3 separate regions of the Homo sapiens genome follow, and regions 2 and 3 are each linked to region 1. The links are contacts of gene promoters, found by promoter capture Hi-C in blood cells and fetal thymus (Javierre and others, 2016). All regions are on one chromosome and are shown on one strand. Each heading gives the region's core, a stretch centred on a gene start or on the middle of the fragment in contact. The rest is flanking DNA. Distances are from core to core; before and after follow the strand shown.

Region 1 (4,048 bases), core at 654-3,153:
GCCCCCACACTCACCATCTTTCCTTGGACTTTCTCCTCTCCTCCTGGCTCAGGGAGCCTGGGCCCCTCAGAGCTCCAGCCATTGTGACATGGTTGGAGTGGGGGTGGGGTTCTTCCCTGGAACTCTCCTGAGGTGGTAGCACGCCTATTTTCCCGCTGAGTCCAACTCTGCTTCTTTTCTTTCTTTCTTTCTTTTTTTGTTTGCGACGAAGTTTCCACTCTTGTTATCCAGGCTGGAGTGCAATGGTGTGATCTCATCTCACTGCAACCTCCACCTCCCAGATTCAAGCGATTCTCCTGCCTCAGCCTCCCAAGTAGCTGGGATTACAAGAATGTGCCACTACACCTGGCTAATTTTTTTTTTTTTTTTTGGGACGGAGTTTTGCTCTTCTTGCCCAGGCTGGAGTGCAGTGGTGCGTGCAATCTCGGCTCACCGCAACCTCCACCTCCTGGGTTCAAGCAATTCTCCTACCTCATCCTCCCAAGTACCTGGGATTACAGGCATGTGCCACCACACCCCGCTAATTTTTTATTTTTCGTAGAGATGGGGTTTCTCCATGTTGGCCATGCTGGTCTTGAACTCCTTACCTCAAGTGATCCACCCCACCACCCCCCGCCTCCCAAAGTGGTGGAATTACAGGCATGAGCCACCGTGCCCAGCCCAACTCTGCTTCTTTTCTATTTATGTCTCCATGACTCCAAAGTTTGTCTGATTCTTTTATTCTTTTTATGGCTAGCTCTGTGGCTTTACATTAATTTGTTTATTTATATCTTGCATGGTTTCAGAGAGGTTTTTTTGTTGTTGTTTTTTTTTTGAGACGGAGTCTGTCTCTGTCGCCCAGGCTGGAGTGCAGTGGCGAGATCTCGGCTCACTGCAAGCTCCGCCTCCCAGGTTCACGCCATTCTCCTGCCTCAGCCTCCCGAGTAGCTGGGACCACAGGCGCCCGCCACCACGCCCGGCTAATTTTTTTGTATTTTTAGTAGAGACAGGGTTTCACCGTGTTAGCCAGGATGGTCTCGATCTCCTGACCTCGTGATCCGCCCACCTCGGCCTCCCAAAGTGCTGGGATTACAGGCGTGAGCCACCGCGCCCAGCCTCAGAGAGGTTTTAAGGCAAGGAGCTGTGAACCCTGGCTCCTCCATCTCCTTAGTTTTTAATTTTCCAGCACCAGGGAGGAGTTCTTGGGATTGTCCCTGTGGAGTTTCAGGAATGTGTTTTTTCTGTGTGTGCTTCCACCTGGTGTTTTGTTGATGCTGTCCCCAGAGGCCGACACCAAGGCCTCTGCATTTATGTTCAAGTATACAGATGTGGATCTATCTGCTGGTGGGGACAAAGTACCCAGCCAGCTTCATGTGTTCATTTGCGCTGGTGGTCGTTCGTGTGTGCCCCGTATGCAGGGCCAGGGCCTTCTTTTTCCGCGGCCTGCTGAGCTTTCCTGCGCATTCCTGGAGAGGGTGTGTGTGTGTGTCCAGGGCTGGCCCTCTTTGAGTGTGCCGACCCTGGGTCTGTGAGTCCCACCGGGCCTGATTATGAGTCTGCCATGTCATGTCTGCACCCTGAGAGCCTGTGTGTTATGCTTTCAGGCAGTGTGCACCGCTGAGTGAAGGGCGTGCAGGAGGAAGGGCGGAGGGAGCCCTTTCCCTGGGGGTCGGTGGTCTTGCGCCCCTGCCGGGATGCTGCAGCCCGGCCCGCGCCCCGCTCGGTGTCCACCCGCCCGGTGGCCCAGCGCGGCGCAGTGTCATGCCGCGGGGGTCAGTCCTGGGGAAGGCCGTCGGGCGCTCGGAGCTTTGTGTCGGTGTCGGCTGCGCTGCGCCGGCCTCCTCTCGGCGGCGGCGGCGGCGGCGCTGGGGGGGGACTGTTTCCGGGGGTGGGGGTGGGGGTAGGACCGGGGCGGGGGGAGCCGATGATGTCAGCGGCGGCGGCGGCGGCGGCAGCGGGGCCGGGCCGGGGCCAGGCGCTGGGGGGGCCAGGGCCGGAGCTGGAGCCGGAGCCGGAGCTGGAGGCGGGCAAAACCGGAGCGGCCGGGGGCGGCCACGGTGATGAGCCGGGCCTGGCGGACGCGGCGCCATCGCAGTCAGGTGGGCCCTGGGGCGAACTGGGCAGGGCCAGGGCGGACCGGAGCCAACTGCCAGGCCCCCTCTCCGCTGCCCGGCGCTGCGGGAGCCCCGACCGCGCCCCGCGCCCAGACCGCTCTCCTTTGGGGTTGACCTGGGGGCGCAGGGGTCGGGGGCTGAGCCTGGCCCCGCCCCCGGGCGCGCACGACGCTGGGGGGCGACTAAGGGGGCCCTGGTATGGCGTCCGAGCGAGGGGCGGCCGTGGGACGCGATCGCCTGGGGCCGTGGAAGGGGAGGTGCTCACTCCCTCTTTGAAGGGTTAATTCTGCAGCCTAATGGCCCCCTCCCCCCGTGGGGCAGATTGGGGGTGGGGTGGGGCGGGTGTGAGCCCGGGCAAGCGCTGCAAGCTGCTGGGAGGGTGATGGCGTAGGAGCCAGGCAGAGAGGGGGAGGGGTGGGCCGCCGAGCGCCCCAGAGTTGGGGTGTGCGGGGTGCGCAGGGCGAGCTGGGGCCCCGGAACCGCCGCGCCGTCGGGGCAGGGTTGTGGCTGTGAGTCTTGGAGATCGTGTGTCTTGTGCTGTGTGGTGGGGCAAGGTAAACCTCTCCTGGGCACCACCGTTTGCTGGCAGCCAGGGGTCTGGGTAGGGCCCTCCCTGGGCCATGGAGATAGAAAGCCAGGAAGGGTGTCCAGTGTTGTGGGGCAGAGTTACAAGACGAGCCCTGTGGCTTTGGGTGACAGATGGGTATTCTGAGCAGGGCACAGCATGCTGGGTGCAGAGTTTGTTCGATGTGGGGCTGTATGTTTTCTACAGCATGTGTTTTCTCGCATGTGTGTCTTGTGCTGCACCTATGACCTGTTTATGAACTGTTTTCTGCAGAGCTGGCATGCTGTATGTGTTGCGGAGGGTGCCAGGATGCAGTGTATGTGCCCTTTTGGAGGGGGCGGTTGTGGGCCTTTGAGTCAGAAGGCGTCACGTCTGGGTCCCATTTCTGTGGCCCTGCTGAGGTGTGGTCCAGTGGTGAAGAGGGCGATGGATGGGTTTGCGTGTCTGTGATGAGCGCGTTGCATGGGGGCTGCGCGTCTAGAACTCAGATCCCAAAGATCATGAGAGGAGCGAGGAACCCCGGGGTATGTCTCAGGGGCCTGTGGGTCAGTTGGCACTGGTGTGAGGGGCTCGAGGTGGAATGCGCCAGTTGTGTTTATGGGATCATGGGCAGCCAAGCGAGGGGAAGGTTGTGTGTTTGCAACATTCTCCACAGGATTCTTTTGTGACGTTGTTTGTAGGAGCCTGTCTGGGCTGCTGAGCTGGGAGGCAAACTGGTCAGAAAACACATGTGGGGAGGGAGGTGGCGTGACAAGGGCAGTGTGGGCCTCAGACCCAAGAGGCCAGCCGCAAGCAGGCTGTGTGTGCGTGCCTGCCGTCTGTGTGCTTAAGTGGCGGTGGGGCTGCGGAGGGGATTTGGTATGAGGAAGGCGGGAGATAAATGCAGGGTAGCGCATGGAGGCCGGCGGGAGGCATGGGTGTTGTCAGATGGCCCAGCTAATCTTTGCAGGGTCTGTATGTTTGCCCCTCATGAGCCTGCCCAGCGTGTCAGGGTCACCCGGAGGAGAGGCTGGGCGGCCACAAGGGAAGTAAGCTTAGACAGAGAGGCTCCTTGGCCATGTTTATGTAAAGGCTGGGTGTGACTCTTGTCACTAAAATGGAAAAAAGAAACGTGAAGTTTTCAGCCTCCTCCTGCTTCACCCTCTCCCTCTCTCTGCCCCCCTTGTGGGTATCTCTGACGCACACTGGGCCCCACTCCTGCGACGGTGGAAGGGCCTCAGAACAGAATTCGCTCACTAGGCAGATTCCTCAGAACAGGTTTTCCTCACCTTTGGGGACTGGGCCCTTCTAGGGGTGTGTGTGCAAGTGCATTCCAAGCCTGCACACCACTGTCTACTGTGCCCGGCCCCACTGGAAGGATGTGTGTACGTGGGGGAAGGGAGGGTGCTGC
Region 2 (4,048 bases), core at 581-3,080, 92 kb after region 1:
GCCTATACCCCAAGTCAATATGGTGGCTTCCATCATCCAGGATGGCTGCCCTGCAGAGTCCAGTGTGGTAGCTGATGGCAGTTCAGGATGGCTGTTCACATGGTCCAGTGTGGCCCCTTGATCCTCTCTAGCGCGTAGAAGCTTCCTCTGCATATGATGTATAGCAGCTCTTTTCTTCCAAGTCCTCTTGTTTGAGAATGTAGTGGGCAGACTAGATCCTTCTTGGCCCAGCCAAAGGAGCTTCAGCCTTCAGAAGCCAAGGAGCATGGGAGGGAGGAGACATTTGCCAGTGCCCAACTCTGGGCTCCTCCTCCATGTGCCTACGGCAGGTGGGATCTCCCCAGGTGGAACGTCTACCCCTGTCGGGACCTTGTTCTGGTTCCGCTTGGTCCCATGTGGCCAGGCCCTCAGGGGCCTAGGCTTTTCATGCTGGTGTCTGTGCCCGCAGAAGCTGAGCTCAGGGCCTGGCCAGGACATAGCGGCTGGCAGCTGAGAGGTCCCACTGGTAATGCTCCAGGATGCGCCAGCAGTCAGCTCTGGACCGGCTACTCAGGTGGAAGAGCTGATCTACCTGTGGAAGCAGGAGGGTGGGTTGCAGCTGACTGCCAGGCGGCAGGGGCAGGAGAGGAGGGACCCCAAGAGAAGGGGCTGGCTTTACCTTGAGGTTCCGGATGGCAGAAACCACATCTCCCCCAGTGGCTCCTAGTGCTGTCTGGCACTCCTGGTGGGTGACCCCATGCACACTCAGCTCCACCTGTGACAGACAAAGCCTCACTCAGGCCCCTGCCCCTGCCTGTAGCCCCTTCTGGACACCAGGCCATTTCAGTGAGACCTCACCTCCATAATCTTCCTCTGCAACTCAGGATCGGACAAGAGGCCTCCAGAGAGGGCAGCGGCTTTACGGGCTCCAGGCATTCCCATGGGGTGATTGTGTGGGGGTTTTCTTTTGGGCCAGGGAAGCCTCTCCCTAGAGGGCTGGCTGGGCTGAGGAGAGCTAGAGGATAAAGGTGGGCGTGGAGGCAGGCCTGGAGGTCCCTGGGGCACAGCTCTGGCTTGTCGAATTTCAGGGGGGCTTGAACCACCCCCTGTGGGACGAGGACCGAGGGACAGAACTGACTCCAGACTCCTGGAAATGCCTGCACAGTTGAGAAGGAAACAACTTGAACTCGGCTGGCTGCAGCCTCCGCCTCCCGGGCTCAAGCGATCCTCCCACCTCAGCCTCCCGAGTAGCTGGGACTATAGGTGCCTGCCATTACGACTGGCTAATTTTTGTATTTTTGTAGAGAAGGGGTTTCGGCACATTGCCCAGGCTGGTCTCAAACTCCTGGACTCAAGCCATCCACCCACGCTGGGCTCCCAAAGTGCTGGGATTACAGGCTTGAGCCACCATGCCTGGCCCCACTCTCTGTCTTCATCTGTGCTGAGCTGGATGGTTTTGCAAGCATTTGCAGATGAGCTAGCCAGCCCTGTCCCTGGGTGGTTCATGTGTCAGGTGGGACAATAAGACAGATGGGCAAGTGGACACCAAGGCCTAGGCGGAGGGCCCAGAGAACTCAGAGCTCAGGGCCCAGAGTGTGGAGGTGCTCTTCAGAAGGGAAGGCAGGAGGGCTTCCTATCTTTTAAGATTCCACAGTATAGGGCCGGACGCAGTGTCTCACGCCTGTAATCCCAGCACTTTGAGAGGCCGAGGCAGGCAGATCACCCGAGGTGGGGAGTTCAAGGCCAGCCTGGGCAACAGGGTGAAACCTCATCTCTACTAAAAATACAAAATTAGCCGGGTGTGGTGGCACATGCCTGTAGTCCCAGCTACTCGGGAGGCTGAGGCAGGAGAATCGCTTGAACCCGGGAGGTGGAGGTTGCGGTGAGCCAAGATCACGCTACTGCACTCCAGCCTGGGCAAAAAGAGTGAAACTCTGTCTCAAAAAAAAAAAAAAAAAATAGATTGCACAGTATAGCTAGGATGCCAGCAGACAGAATTCAGAGGAAGGAAATAATAGATGCAAAGGCATGGATTTAGGGCAGGGGGTCGGAATTGAAGGACTGGTCTTGATCTCCTCAGAGACTCTGGAGTCCACCACACCCACCTTTCATCCTCTCCAGGGGCATGTTCCTCCTCTGGCCCCGTGCTGGGGGCGCATCCCAAAGATTTGCCTTCTTTCTGTCTCTGTCGGAGAGGGATCCAGTTCATCCTCCACACCAACTCTCCCCACCCCACAGATCAATATACCCTCCCAAAAAAACTCACAGGGGAACCCAGGAGACCCAGGGCCCAGGGTGGAGGCTGCAGCTTCACTCTGGTCCTGTCCCCAGGCTTCTCTTCCAGAGAAGCTCCTGGACCTCATCAGTTCTCCCAGCCAACCCCTGCCCTCACCCTTTCAGGTCCTCACCCATCTATGCTTCCTGGGTGTTGATCTCCCCGGGCAGGGGTGCCTCTGTGGACTGGACGGGTGGCTGGCAAGCCCCCCGCATCTGCCAGCGTCACTGCCGAGGCTGGGAAGCTGCCCACTTTGAAGGTGCGACCATTCTGGCCCTTCCAGATTGTGGAGTCGGGGCTGTGGAAAGAGGAGCTGGTAAATAGGATGGGAATAAGGGCAAGAGTTAGGGCTGGGCCCTGGCCCACAGTCAGCTCACTAGGCTATGTGCCTTGGAGCCGCATCTGCCTGGAGGAAGGGAAGCCTTTTCCCTAATGCAATAAGGCTCTATGGGCCAGCAGTGGCTCCAGCAGGGAGGCCAGGACCATGCTGGAGCTTTCAGGACCCAGTGGGGAGAGGAGATGAGACAGAAGATCAGGGTTCAAGGAGCTGGAGAGAAGCAGAGAAGGGATCAGGAATTAGGCTGGGAGGGTATCCTCCTCCTGAGGGTGCTTGGGAGGTATGGGACTGTCACCTGCCCTCGATGACTGTGATGGGGTCACCAGTCTCCATCCTCAGGGCGCCTGGTTCTGTGACATCCCTCACACAACATGCTTCCGAAGGCCCGGCCTGTGGAGACAAGAGGAAAGGGTGGCTGGGCTTGTGGCCTGAGTCAGATAGGTAATATGGGAGCAGGAATAAAGAGGAGCTCCGCTCTGTATGTAGTCTGTGCTGGGCCCAGGGTGGGACTCTCCCTGTCCCCCCATTGTAATTCAGTGAGGGAGGCAGACCTGGATCCCATGACAAACAGGTCAGGGCTCAAGGAGCAAGAGAGGAGGGCCCTGGCTCTACCTGGGGGGACTAACAGGAGCGTCATCCTGTACACTGCTTTCACTCCACATCCAGGCCTGTCAGAGCAGCCTCCCAAGCCCCTCTGGGAAATTTCCACTCCTCTGCAGCCCCACCGCCTCTACCCTCATCCAGACCTCTTCATCTCCCTTCTGCTTCACAGCCACTGTTGCCTACCTGGTCTCCCAGCCTCAGCATCATCCCTCTAATCCATTCTTGCGCCACATCAGAGTGCCGTCATGGTGAGAGTGGCTTGTAACTCCCCTGCCTAATAGGCTTCCCTGGCTCCCAAATGCCTTCAGAGTAAAGACTAAGCTTTAGTGGTAGAGTGTAGCAGCTTAGGGAACAGCTCTGAAGTCAAACTGACTGGCTCAAATCCCAACTCCTCCACTTACCATGTGACTTTAGGCAAGTCACTTAAACTCTCAGTGCCTCAACTGCCCATCAGTAACATGGAGATAATAATTACCTCATCCAGGCCGGGCACGGTGGCTCATGCCTGTAATCCCAACACTTTGGGAGGCCAAGGCAGGTGGATCATTTGAGGTCAGGAGTTCGAAACCAGCCTGGCCAACATGGTGAAACCCCATCTCTACTAAAAATACAAAAATTAGCCAGGCGTGGTGGCAGGCGCCTGTAATCCCAGCTACTCGGGAGGCTGAAACAGGAGAATTGCTTGAACCCAGGAGGCGGAGGTTGCAGTGAGCCAAGATCCCACCACTGCACTCCAGCTAGGGTGACAGAGCAAGACTGTCTCAAAATAAAATACTACTAATAATAATTACCTCATCCAGTGGTTGAGAGCATTAAATGAGCGAATCTGCATAAGCGCCCATGTAAAGTGCACA
Region 3 (4,048 bases), core at 1,374-3,873, 69 kb before region 1:
GTGAACCCCTCGGCTGAGCACTCCTCATGCCTCCCTGCCTCTCACAGTGGAAAGACATTCTGGTGAGGGGGATGGTATGTGCAAAGTCCAGAAGAGGCACACCGGGAGCAGGGGTGTCAGCGCAGCAAACATGAAGACAGCATAAGAGTGCAGGGAAATTAGGTTGAGACCAGACCACGAAGAGACTGGAAGCCATGTAGAGAGCCAATACCACAAGAAAAGTGAAGTTTAGGGGCTCAGCATGGCAGCACAGGTCAGATGGAGTGGAGGGGTAGGGAGGGTGTGGAGTGGGGAAGCAGCAAGAGGCTGGATTTGAGGTTCTGAGGTCACGGTGCTGAGGTAGAGGGTGGGGTAGAAATGGAAAAGATGAGCAGACACTAGCAGCATTTAGAGAAAAAGATCATCAGAACGTGGAATATGGAGGAGACAGAAGAAAAAAGAATGAAAAGTGCTTCTTGGAGAAGAATGAGGGCTGAAGGAGAGAGCTGGGACAGTGATTTGCTGGGGGAACTGGGCAGAGTTCTGGGGAAGAGTAGGGGTCTTTCATGGGGTCCCACGCCTGGGTCACAGAGAGAACCAAGACCTTCATGAACTGGCTTCTGTGGTTCTGAGACTGATGGCCGGGAAGGGAGTGGGAGGTCAAAGGTTTTCAAGGGCCCTTTTCCCAGGAGGCCAGTGCTGTGTCGGGGGATGGGGTCTCACCTGCCTGCGCTCCGTCCTGTCCAGGTCGTGGATGAACTGTAAAGTACAGGAAAAGGCTGGTGAGACCTGCCCTGACCCTCTGCCACCTGCCCCTCTCCTCCTGGGTATGGCTCACCCATCACCCACCTTCATAATGGGCTGCGATCGCTCTTCGAGCCCGTGTTTTCCGGCCTTTAGGTGCTGAGGATCAAGGAAAGACAGATGAGCAAAGCGGGCCCTAGTGGGGGTCCCAGAGCAACTCTCCCAGCCCCATTCCCCTCTCAGGAACCCTGGCATCCTTATTCTTGTCCAGACTCCTGGCCTTAGAATCTCAGGCCTCATCTTCCTCAGTAAGTAGAGTGACTATAATTTGTCATCCACACTGGGATACTGCTGAGAGCAAAACGGGAAGCTGCTATTAATCACACCGAGATAACAGGTGGGGGCCAGGACAACTGCATGCCGACTTGGACACGTGGTCATCCGGCCACCCCATCATCCCATTCCTAAGTCTCTTTGCCTACCGGGGCCCAGGCCTCTGACTGCCAGGCCTAGTCTCCATCAGGATCCCAGTAGTTCTTCTAACTCATGGCCACCCTGCCTTCCTGTTTGGGGTAGGGTCTGAAGGAGCACATCCATATGACAGAAGGAGCTTCAGAGGAGGGCGAGAATCCCTAGGTTTGAGTCTTGGCTGGTTAGCTGCATGACTCTGAACTCCTTTCACCCTCCGTGCCTCAGTTTCTCCCTGTGGATAATGGTTTTTGCTCTGCCCGCTTCCTGAGGTTGGGATAGAGGGATGCTCACCACTTCTGCGAGGCCGAACTAGTCGGTTCAGGAAAGGCGCAGGATCCTGGCTTTCTTCTGTCTGGGGATTCAGTTCCTAGGGGAATTAGGGCAGGGTTCAACCACAGACTCCCAGAGATATAAAGTGAGACATACGGGGCCTGTCAGGAGAGCCACCAGCCAGCAATAGACACAGAAGTCAGGGACAGATTAAGCCCCTCAGCCAACTACAGCTGGGGCCCCGGGCAAAGGTGAAGCTGGGAGTCAGGCCCCAGTCCTCACCCTTTCCTCTAGACCAGCTACACTTTCCCACCCACACACACAACCAACGCAGACCCTGCATTCAATTGGCACATTGCACACATGCCCGCACCCAGTCACCACGCACAGAGGATACACACCCTGTACACAACCGCACCCCTCTTCCACGCAGACTCACATATCTTATACAACCACGTCACCCCCAGCCAATAAACACCTCAGACTCAGGTGGCACAACCCCAGCACAAACCCCTCACACAGAGTTGTCACCACGCACACACACCCCTGCAGACACGCACCCATGCACGCACTGTGTTCACACACACCCTGCACACACCTCGAGTACGGCTGGCACAGCTGCACACACCTGCAGCCTCGGCTGTGCACACTTCCCATGCCCCAGCAGCCTGCAGACCGCGCCCACGCCCACTCACCGACGGGTCCTGGTCCTCCTCTGCCACCAGCTCCTCCTGGGCAGGCTCCTGCTGGGAAGGAGGGAGCGTCACCCTGTGCCGCTCCACCTGACATCTCACCCTCCACCCATCCTCCCTTCCCCTTGCCTTCAGCCCACGCGGCCCCCAGCGGCCCCTCTGCAGTCTCAGCTCCTGATGTGCCCAAGAAGGGGTGCGCAGCGGGGCCTCACCTGGGCGGACAGCGATGCCCGGCTCCCCAAACTGACCACGGCCAGCAGGAGGCCGAGGCAGGCCAGCGCCAGGCCCAGGCCCAGCGCGAGCGGGACCAGCAGGGCGGTGCCCGGCTCCCCCCGGCGCCCCCTCCGCCTCTGGCTCCGACGGGCGGCCATGGGGGCGGGGGGCTGTGCCTGCCTCACCGCCCCCCCATCCCGGGACCCGAGGGATCGGGGGAGGGGGAGCCGGCGGGCGGATCGGGCCGGGGAGAGGGAGGGGCAAGGGAAACGGGGCGGGAGGGGGCGCTGGGGACAGGAAGCCGGACGCTGTGTGTGATCAAACTCCGAGCCTCTCGCCGGGCGCTGTGCGCGCAGCGAACGGAGTGGGCGCCCACCCGACCTCTGAGCGCCCAGCCCGGGCGTGCACCACCAGGGCGAGGTCCGTTGCGTGCGGCCGCGGGAGCGACGGGGCTATGCGTGTGCGGGCACCTCCTGCGGGGAGGTGGGGAACTCAGGAAGGCCTGTTGGTTCAGATTCTTCTGTGTCCCTGTGTCTTCAGAGATAAGGACCCTCCTTTCCCCCAGGTGCAGGGAGGGCGCCTCTCGCAGGAGGCTGTTATTTGCTTCTTCAGGAAAAGGGCAGGGAGTTCCAGGTTGTATGACCTGGTTCAGGGAAGAAGGGCAGGAGAAGGTAAGAAAGATCCTTCGGCTTCTGCGGTTTTCTCAAATTCCTTCAGCTTAAAACACTCACTGTGCCGGTAGCACGTTCTGAAGCCCATCATTACCAATGATTGCCAAGCATCTGAGGAGGACCAGCAGCATGCAAAAGAAACACCAAAATTGGTCCGGCAGGTGGCTTACGCCTGTAATCCCAGAAGGCCAAGGCTGGGGGCCAGGAGTTCAAGATCAGCCTGGGCAAGAGCAAGACCCCATCTCTACAGAAAAGTTTTAAAAAATTAGCCCACGCCTGTAGTCCCAGCTACTCAGGAGGCCGAGGTAGGAGGATTGTTTGAGCCCAGGAGTTTGAGGCTGCAGTGAGCTGTGATTGCACCACTACACTCCAGCCTGGGCAACAGACCTTGTCTCAAAAAGAAAGAAAGAAAGGAAGAAAGAAAGAAAGGAGGGAGGGAGGGAGGGAGGGAAGGAGGGAAGGAAGGAAGGAAGGAAGGAAGGAAGGAAGGAAGGAAGGAAGGACCAAAATTGGCTGGGCGCGATGGTTCACGCCTGTAATCGCAGCACTTTGGGAGGCTGAGGCGGGTGGATCACGAGGTCAGGAGATCGAGACCTGCCTGGCCAAGATGGTGAAACCCTGTCTCTAATAAAAATACAAAAAAATTAGCCGGACGTGGTGGCAGGCGCCTGTAGTTCCCAGCTACTCGGGAAGCTGAGGCAGAGAATTGCTTGAACCCAGGAGACAGAGGTTGCAGAGAGCTGAGATCACGCCACCACACTCCAGCCTGGGCAACACAGCAAGACCCTATCTCAAAAAAAAAAAAAAAGAAAGAAAGACCAAAATTAACAAACAAAATTTGACATTGGAGGAAACAGAGATAATTCAGGATACAAAGAGTACTACCTAATATACTTAAAGAGAGTCAAGAAAAAGCATCCATAGAGCTGGGCATGGTGGTGCATGCCTGTAGTCCCAGCTACTCAGGAGGTTGAGATGGGAGGATCACCTGAGCCTGGGAGGTTGAGG

Evidence for each region. The method cuts DNA at HindIII sites, captures the fragments that hold promoters and counts their contacts. A CHiCAGO score of 5 or more calls a contact.
Region 2: a contact is called between a fragment that was not itself captured here and the fragment with the promoter of ZBTB4 in region 1, in 1 of 17 cell types (naive B cells). The highest score is 5.9, in naive B cells.
Region 3: the fragment with the promoter of TNFSF12 here is called in contact with the fragment with the promoter of ZBTB4 in region 1 in 13 of 17 cell types (total CD8 T cells, naive CD4 T cells, naive B cells and 10 more); the score reaches 9.5 in total CD8 T cells.

The regions. Positions count from the first base shown.
Region 1 is chr17:7,477,486-7,481,533 of GRCh38, reverse strand. ZBTB4 (zinc finger and BTB domain containing 4) reads left to right here and starts at 1,903. Exons shown (of 4, transcript NM_001128833.2): 1 at 1,903-2,078. SLC35G6 (solute carrier family 35 member G6) reads right to left here and starts at 88. Exons shown (of 2, transcript NM_001102614.2): 1 at 15-88. The coding sequence starts at 17. RefSeq lists silencers at 1,547-1,806, 1,827-2,286, 2,547-2,596. The HindIII fragment of the contact is 9,560 bases long and covers 1-3,693 here.
Region 2 is chr17:7,385,494-7,389,541 of GRCh38, reverse strand. TNK1 (tyrosine kinase non receptor 1) reads right to left here. Exons shown (of 13, transcript NM_003985.6): 8 at 2,887-2,981; 9 at 2,388-2,552; 10 at 2,085-2,164; 11 at 838-1,136; 12 at 659-754; 13 at 1-571. The coding sequence ends at 458. Among named protein-coding and RNA genes, the nearest start is that of TNK1, 6.4 kb to the right of the region's middle. The HindIII fragment of the contact is 3,374 bases long and covers 144-3,517 here.
Region 3 is chr17:7,547,633-7,551,680 of GRCh38, reverse strand. TNFSF12 (TNF superfamily member 12) reads right to left here and starts at 2,623. Exons shown (of 7, transcript NM_003809.3): 1 at 2,369-2,623; 2 at 2,160-2,207; 3 at 1,486-1,561; 4 at 829-882; 5 at 703-738. The coding sequence starts at 2,527. TNFSF12-TNFSF13 (TNFSF12-TNFSF13 readthrough) reads right to left here and starts at 2,623. Exons shown (of 11, transcript NM_172089.4): 1 at 2,369-2,623; 2 at 2,160-2,207; 3 at 1,486-1,561; 4 at 829-882; 5 at 703-738. The coding sequence starts at 2,527. RefSeq lists silencers at 2,429-2,508, 2,539-2,728. The HindIII fragment of the contact is 9,939 bases long and covers 1-4,048 here.